Linked DNA regions of Homo sapiens: region 2 is linked to region 1. The links are contacts of gene promoters, found by promoter capture Hi-C in blood cells and fetal thymus (Javierre and others, 2016). All regions are on one chromosome and are shown on one strand. Each heading gives the region's core, a stretch centred on a gene start or on the middle of the fragment in contact. The rest is flanking DNA. Distances are from core to core; before and after follow the strand shown.

Region 1 (4,114 bases), core at 674-3,173:
TTCATTAAAATCACTATTTATGCACCTAGCCTATTTATTAGTTTTGTAAATTAACAACTACTTTAATTTTTTTCCAGCTTTAATGTCTAATATGGTAAATATAGACAGATATACCACACAAACAGAAGCTCTTAGGTCCACGGTAATTTTTGAAAGGTAAAGGGGTCCTGAGAATAAAAAGTTTGAGAATTGTTCTTTTTTTTTTTTTTTTTTTTTTGAGACGGAGTCTTGCTCTGTCGCCCAGGCTAGAGTACAGTGGTGCGATCTCGGCTCACTGCAAGCTTCGCCTCCCGGGTTCATGCCATTCTCCTGCCTCAGCCTCCCGAGTAGCTGGGACTACAGGCGCCCGCCACCACGCCCGGCTAATTTTTTGTATTTTTTAGTAGAGACGGGGTTTCACCGTGTTAGCCAGGATGGTCTCGATCTCCTGACCTCGTGATCCACCCGCCTCGGCCTCCCAAAGTGCTGGGATTACAGGCATGAGCCACAGCGCCCGGCCGAGAATTGCTCTTATATGAAGATTTATTCCCTCCTCTCACCCCTGCATTATGTGAAGTCTTCATTTCTTGGTATAACTTCATTTGACAGCTATATCGATTGCAGCCTGGAGACTAGCAAAAAACGACAGGCTGAAATATGGTCACCAATCACCACATTAACTCTTTGTAATTAACCACTGTCGCCTGCCTGCTCCCTAACTCTACGGACTGAGCAACACAAAGCTCCATCCACACAGACGAGTGGCAATGTGCAAAAGGGAACTGTAGAAAGCTTAAATGCTGACATGTTACAAAGTAGTTTTGTTGATAGCTAGCAAGAAGCACACATTTTCTTTATTCTGTTGAATCTTCATTTGGATTTACAGTTCTGGGCAGATTTGGAAACGGGGATGGTGGCGGCATTGTTTCCGAAAACCAGCGCATCCGTGCAAAGAATTTAATTCCCTCACCATCTTGCTACTGGTCTGTTGCAGTGGGGTGTGGTTAGAGGGCTAGGAAGCAATCCAAAACAGCAGCTCAGGCTGCCCAAAGCCGTGTCCAAGCGATCATTTTCTCCATTTTGGGCCAAGTCAATTTGCACCGGCAAGAGGCAGAATGTTTGTTTTATGGGGAGGAGGAAAATAAAAAAGGAAGTCAGAGAGCATGGACGGAAACAAGCAACACCACCAAAGAGGTTTCATCTCGGGTGGATGTTAAACGATTGGAATGCTAATAATGGGCGCGAGGAGCAAACACAATTGTTCTGAGTCCACAGCTGCGGCACTTTTAATGACAGGTCTGTAGTTCTGCATTGGGATTGAACGTGAAATGATTTTCTTATCCAAACTATTTGCATTCATTTTGGGCCGCGTCTGTGACCAGCCTCGCTGACTGCGGCTGAGGCAGTCCCAAACAAAGAGGAATGGACGTCCTCCCGAGGGAGCGGAGGCGGGAAAGGTGGCCCCAGGTGGCCGCGCCAGGTGTCCCCCAGGGGTCCACCTTGCAAGCCGCGGGGAGGGTGCGTCCCGGGAGCGTCGGAGAGGCGCGGTCGGGAAGGGGTGGGTCCGGGCTCCAGGCACCACACGGCGAAAGACCCCGCCCTGCCCACGGCCAAGGTTAACCCGCGCGCTGGAGGTACCTGCGGAGGCTTCGCACAGCCAAAAGGCACCGGGCGATCATGGGAGCGCTGAGAGGCTGGCGGCGGCGGGCGCGTGGTCCTTCGGCGTGGGGCGGCGAGGCGGGCGGCAGCGCCTGGGCGCCCGGGAGTCTCGAGCCGGCCTAGCCGCAGAGGCCACAGTGGCTGCCTGGCCAGCGCCCTCCCACGTGCGGCAGCTCCACGCCGGCGCCTACCAGCCCCGCCCCGCGCCGTGCCCCGCCCCAGCTCGCGTGTCTGGCCCCGCCCCAGCCCTCGCGTCCGGCCCCGCCCCAGGGGCGGTGCTGGCCAGACCCTGCCGCCTGAGAGAGAGCACAGCCTGGTGGGTTCTGGGGTCTACGGCCTAGGGGCCGGGGAAGTTTGCGCCGCCGCGACCAGTGCTGCGATCCCGAGCCGGGCTCCAGCCCCGAGGACCAGGGGTCGGGCGGGCCTGCCTACGGAACCCCGCGGGCCAGCAGCAGTCGTCTCGCGTCCTCCTGCTTGGTAAGGGGCTTCTGTCTGGCAAGGGTGCGCCTCCCGCCGCTCCGGACCGGGGCCCGCACCGGCACCCGCTGCACACCGGGCAGGGCCGAGGCGAGGCCGGGTACCTGAGGGAGGACGGAAGGGAGGGGGAGCTCGATGCGCTCTGGGGAGAGGAAGGGGGAGAAGCCTATTTCCCTCTTCTCACCCCTTTTCCCCCCATTCTGTTTTTACCTTCTGCCCTGGGGCCTTATTTAGTGCTTATGACCCCGTGGCCTAGAGGCTGACATCGCCTTTAAAATAACTACACAAATAATAAACATTATAGCGGCGGGTACCACACCCTGGCTTTGAATTAGGGAACCTGGGGAGCAGATGGATGATGCGATTTGGTGGAAATCAGCCATGAATGCCGCCTGGCCCTGCGCCACTGTTTGGATGCGATAGTATTCCATGTGAATGAACATGACCGGGAGCTTCCAGCTTGTCCACGAGAGCACAGCCTCTGCAGGGAGCGCCGGTCGGCTTGTAGTATCCATCGACTTGGGCAGCGATTTCCTGACATGTCTGCTGATTAAATAGAAATGCCATTTTTATTAAGAACGACACTCACCACTTGAATAACCTTTCGCGAATGTGTTTCCTCATCAAATAACTCTCAACCTACAAAAGTGGGTAGAGTGTACATTATTAATACTTTTTTTAGATCCCATGAAAAAGAGGAAGATGCTTGGTATACATCAGCTTTTAGTCAGCAGTATGAAATGCCTCTTAACTTAGTACTGAGGCCTTTAGGGGATTTCTGTATGGTGAGATATGCAGTGACAGTCTAAGCTTATGCTGTACATGTTTTGAAGACATTTTTACTTATTCCAAGATTTAACATACTCGTATACCACTGGGTATTAATGAAAATATGTAATAAATTACCTTCACAATACTTTGTGCTCTCCTGACTCTTTACAAAGAGAAAAGATGAAAGGTCATACAGTTTTGTGTTTTGTTTTTACCTTTAATACACTTTATAACCCATATCATCTTTGTAATTTATGACTTTCCTGACTGATTCTTTAAAATAACTTAGTTCAGTGTTTTCATTTTTCTTATCAAGGAAAAGTGTTTAAGCTTCTAAAATGTCATCTATCAAGCACCTGGTTTATGCAGTTATTCGTTTCTTACGGGAACAAAGTCAGATGGACACTTACACCTCGGATGAACAAGAAAGTTTGGAAGGTATGCATCTGCTCTTTGTGTTCATTTATATTATAATTATAAACGAAGACTAAAATAGCTGTAAGCCCAACTTGATGATCTATTGTAACATAATCAGAATTTTTTTTGATCTTTCAAGAGGAGAGGCCTGACTATAAGGTTATCGTATTTCCATTTTCTGAAGCTTGTTTTGTTTGTTTTAACAACAAATTAAGAGGACTATTGTTCATTTATTGAACAAATACTATATGTCAGAAGTATGCTGTTCATATTATAGGCAATTTTTTCTTCACAGCAACTGTTATGTTAGTATTATCCCCATTTAACAAGTGAGAAAATAAAACCAGGGCCAGGCTTGGTGGCTCATGCCTGTAATCCCAGCACTTTGGGAGGCCGAGGCAGGTAGGTCATTTGAGGTCAGGAGTTCAAGACCAGGCTGGGCAACATGGCAAAACCCTGTCTCTACTAAAAATACAAAAAGTAGCCAGGTGTGGTGGCACTTGCCTGTAGTCCCAGCTACTCAGGAGGCTGAGATAGGAGGGTGGCTTAAACCCAGGAGGTGGAGGTTGCAGTGAGCTGAGATCACACCACTGCACTCCAGCCTGGGCCATGAGCGAGACCCTATCTCAAAAAAAAAAAAAAAAAAAGAAAAAGAAAATGAAACCAAATAGCGTAAGCAGATAACACAGCTGATATGTGATAAAGCTGAGATTTAAATCCTGGTTAATACTCTGAAGATCTTGTTGTCTCCATTTCCTAATAGGAAAGCATCCAGTTTAGAAATAATATATAAAAATACCTGAGTCATTTT
Region 2 (4,081 bases), core at 1,496-3,995, 5.9 Mb before region 1:
TACAACCTAGTAATTTTCTTGTGAAGCTGAGCAACCACAGAGGTTAGTGCCTGACAGTCATAATGAATTGGAGCTGAGCCACTGACAAGTTTCCCACCCCATCTTTTCAACCATAGAACCCACCTAGGTAGAGCTGGGTGAGTGAGAAGCATTATAGAGCAACAGTTAAGACCCTGGACTCAAGAGTTATGAGCCAGACCACCTGGCTTCAAATTCAGGCTCTGTGTTATCTCAGACAAATTTCTTGGACCCTATATACCACAGTTTTCCCATCTATAAAACAGAAATAACAATTGTACCTACTGCACAGGATCATTATGATAAATACATGAGTAAAACCACATAAAGCCTTTAGAAAAATGGTGGGTACACTATAAAATTCCTGCCATTATTATTACTTATTATAGTTGCTTTTATTTGTAATCAGGAAACACAGCTAAACTGGATCATTCATCCCATTCTCCCCCACCCTCATGGACTTGCTTTGTCTAATGTGAGCACACATTAATTTCATCACATGCCAGCAAGGATTTTAAATCCAATTTGTGTTCAGCCTCTTGCTCCTGTGCCTTCGGCCATGAGAAGGGCATGTTTAATTCAGGGCTGCTCTTCAGCCTCAGTCCAGGAATGGGAAGACACATGGAGCAGACCTGAACCTACCCTGCAGTGGAACAGTCACAGCAGCAGCTAACCAAAGGCCACCAACACGAGTGAGAGATTAAGAAACAAAACAAAATCAAGTGAGAGACTAATATTTACTGTTGTGAGTTACTGAGATTTTTTGATTATTTGTTACACAAAGCGCAACCTAGCAAAAGGTGATTCATACAAAACCCATCACCAAAGCCTTCTTTGTATTAATGGCAGTTCCACCTAACTAAATATTCTGCCCAGTTGGAAACTCCAAAGTCATCCATTTTCCCCTTCCACTCAGTTATTAACTCTATAATCTTTGCTCCTCAGGTATTTATGCCCCCCTCCTACATACAACTCTAACTTTGACTCCTTCATCTCAAGACTCAACTCTCCACTGTCACCTAGGTCTAGTCTTTTCCCTATATCAATCCATCCTCCACATTGCCACCACACTGATGATTCTACCATATCCATAGGATCATGCCACTTATCTACTTAAATATTTTAATGGACAACCTGCCAAATGGAATCTAAATGTGGCTTTTGCATGGAAGATCCTCCTCTATCTGGCCCCATAATCAATCAATCCCATCACCAGACACTATTCAATGAATTCCATGTCCTAGACATGGAATTCAAGTCCTCACACCAGATATACACTTTCATAACTCAGTACCTATGTTCTTGTAACTCTCTTGGTTTATACAGTCTTACCTTCCATCCTGCACCCTGAACTTGGCCAGCTCTTACCCAAGATTCATCTCACCCATTACTTCCTATCGGTAGCTTTCTGTAACCACCTTCTCAAGCTTTAGACAACCCTTCTTACACTGTACCACAGTTACCTGCTTTCTTGTCCATCTTCCCTACAAAATTATTAGTTCCATTCCTACGCATCCATGCCAAATATCTAAAATAGTGCCTAGACCACAATAACCACTTAATAATTCTGAATTAAACATTCTGGACTGACAAACAATTGTGTGTTGTTTGCACTATTTAGATGTTATCTGTATAGGCTTAGAAATCGTGGGAACACAGTGAAATTTTCCAGCTCTGATATTTCGCAAGTTTTGAGTTTTTTGGCCTTATGATGCCTCCTAATTCCAAGAAAAGCCACTCAAAGATACTGTGGGATATTTTCTATTAACATAACCAACTTTTTTTTTTTTTTTTTTTTGAGACAGAGTTCGCTCTTGTTGCCAAGGCTGGAGTGCAATGGCACGATCTCAGCTCACTGCAACCTCCGCCTCCCAAGTTCAAGCGATTCCCCTGCCTCAGCCTCCCAGGTAGCTGGGATTACAGGCGCGCGCCACCATGCCCGGCTAATTTTTGTATTCTTAGTAGAGATGGGGTTTCACCACGTTGGCCAGGCTGTTCTCGAACTCCTGATCTCAGGTAATCCACCCGCCAGGGCCTCCCAAAGCGCTGGGATTACAGGCGTGAGCCACTGGGCTCGGCCATCATAATCAACTTTTAAACTCAAATTTCCTAAGCACAGCGCCCCTCGTTGGGCTGCTCTAGGCCAGTGGTTCCCAAAGCTGGCTGCCAAAAGTCCCCTAATGAGTTCACTAACAATATAAACACAGCGACTCCACCTGAGACCCACAAGGTCCAGAGTAGGGCTCAGGCAGCTATTCAGCTAGCTCCCCAGGTGGCAATTCTAAACCAGGCTTTAAGAACCACTGATTTCAAAGACACAAAGTACAGTGCCAGCTCTAAAAGTGAACTAAACTTTCTTGTATCTGTTAGGCTTTTCTTCTTCAAACTTCACGTGCGTCACAGAATCAACTGGGGCTCCGGACAAGAGAGCAGCAGTTGTTGAAGCGTGCCCCTCCTCCACTTGCTTCCTAGCCTGGCACCGGCGGCCAGGCCACCGGGGCGCTCAGCCTACCTGGTAGAGGGCAGAGCCCAAGTCCGGCTGGGTGCCCAGCGAGGCCACCGAGTCCCCGTGATAGGCGCGCGGCCCGGCGGGAGAGGCGCGGGCACACGGCCGCAGGGCTAACCTCAGGACGGCCCACATGGCGGCGGGCACCGAGCGAGAGAGCGGCCCACGCTGGCCTGGAGCCGGTGCTTTCCCCTGCCGCTTCCCTGGCTGGGGCGGAAGCTGAGCTCAGGTCCTTGCAGCCCCAGAGAAGGTTTCTCTGATTCTCAGGCCTGTCCACACACGTGCCTAAGCGCGCCGCCCGCGATTGGTCAAGCCGCGCCACGCCCCCTGACCCAGCCAATAAGGGACAGAGCCTCAGCCCCGCGAGGTCGCGTCTAGTCCCGAGCGCAGGAGAGCAGGTCTCCCCGGCGGATCGACCCTCACGAAGCGGTGCGGCAGTGAGAGAGCTGCGGTTGGGCTTGGATTGGTGTTGTGTTGACACAGCGATAGATAATATCACGATAGTGACTGTACCTAAGGCAGGAGAATAAGTCTGGAAGCAGGGAACCTAAGGCTGTCTCACGCTGACTTCCTAGAGCTAAACTGAAAGGAAAACCCTAACTTTCCATGCCTAAGTAACAAAAGGACCAAAGGCTACTCCCTTTGCAAACCCCCCCACCTTTTCCGCAGGGCAGATAGGAAATTGGCTGTCCCCGACAAATCAGACTTACTGCTGGTGGAGGCTTGCTTTGCCAAGTTTGAACCTTAACTCCAGCCTCTGAATGGTTGCTGTCCACAACCAATCAGACTGATTGGGGGTCCAGTCTTCGTTTGCATAGAAGTATAACTTTGTAATTTCACCCTAGCCTCTGACTGCTTGCTTCTTGCAACCAATCGGGTTTGAGGTGAGCATAAAATGGCCAATAGGAAACTTCTAGTGGGTATTTGGACCCAAGAAGATTCTATATCCGGGCCCTTGAGCTCTGCTCGGTCCGCTCCCACATTGTGGAGTGCACTTTCGTTTTCGGTAAATCCCTGCTTTCGTTCTTTCGTTGCCTTGTTCTTTCTTTGCTTTGCTGGGCGTTTTGTCCAATTCTTTGTTCACAATGCCAAGAACCTGGACAACTTGCAGTCACAACCCCCAGTGACACACCAACAACATGAGTGAATCGCATCTAACACGTGCTTGCGAACAGCACAACAAGCCTGTTGTCCTTTCACTGGAGACCTTAAACATTCTTCTGATTATTTTCGCTATGTAGTTATTTTTATTTTTTACTTTATTTCATTTTTTGAGACAGGGCCTCACTCTGTCGCCCAGGCTGCAATGCAGTGGCACGATCACAGCTCGCTGAATCCTTGACCTCCCACCTCAGCCTTTCCAGTAGCTGAGACTACAGGTTTGTGCCACCAAGCCCGGCTAATTTTTTATTTTTGTAGGGGTTTCACCATGTTGGCTATGCTGGTCTTGAACTCCTGGACTCAAGCGATCTGCCCGCCACAGCCTCCCAAAGTGCTGGGATTACAGACATGAGCCACCACACCAGGCACTATGTAGTGACAGATTGTGGACATCAG

What was found. Contacts are between HindIII fragments. The CHiCAGO score rates a contact against its expected background, and 5 or more counts as called.
Region 2: a contact is called between the fragment with the promoter of MCCC2 here and the fragment with the promoter of SGTB in region 1, in 4 of 17 cell types (naive B cells, activated CD4 T cells, naive CD8 T cells and 1 more). The highest score is 11.1, in naive B cells.

The regions. Positions count from the first base shown.
Region 1 is chr5:65,719,918-65,724,031 of GRCh38, reverse strand. SGTB (small glutamine rich tetratricopeptide repeat co-chaperone beta) reads left to right here and starts at 1,923. Exons shown (of 11, transcript NM_019072.3): 1 at 1,923-2,115; 2 at 3,203-3,324. The coding sequence starts at 3,225. It overlaps NLN (neurolysin), which reads right to left and starts at 1,827. Exons shown (of 13, transcript NM_020726.5): 1 at 1,618-1,827. The coding sequence starts at 1,658. RefSeq lists enhancers at 563-642, 415-1,236 and silencers at 1,513-2,122, 2,193-2,242, 2,303-2,352. The HindIII fragment of the contact is 2,154 bases long and covers 774-2,927 here.
Region 2 is chr5:71,586,004-71,590,084 of GRCh38, reverse strand. It overlaps MCCC2 (methylcrotonyl-CoA carboxylase subunit 2), which reads right to left and starts at 2,745. Exons shown (of 17, transcript NM_022132.5): 1 at 2,531-2,745. The coding sequence starts at 2,659. RefSeq lists an enhancer at 2,300-3,086. The HindIII fragment of the contact is 6,273 bases long and covers 1,448-4,081 here.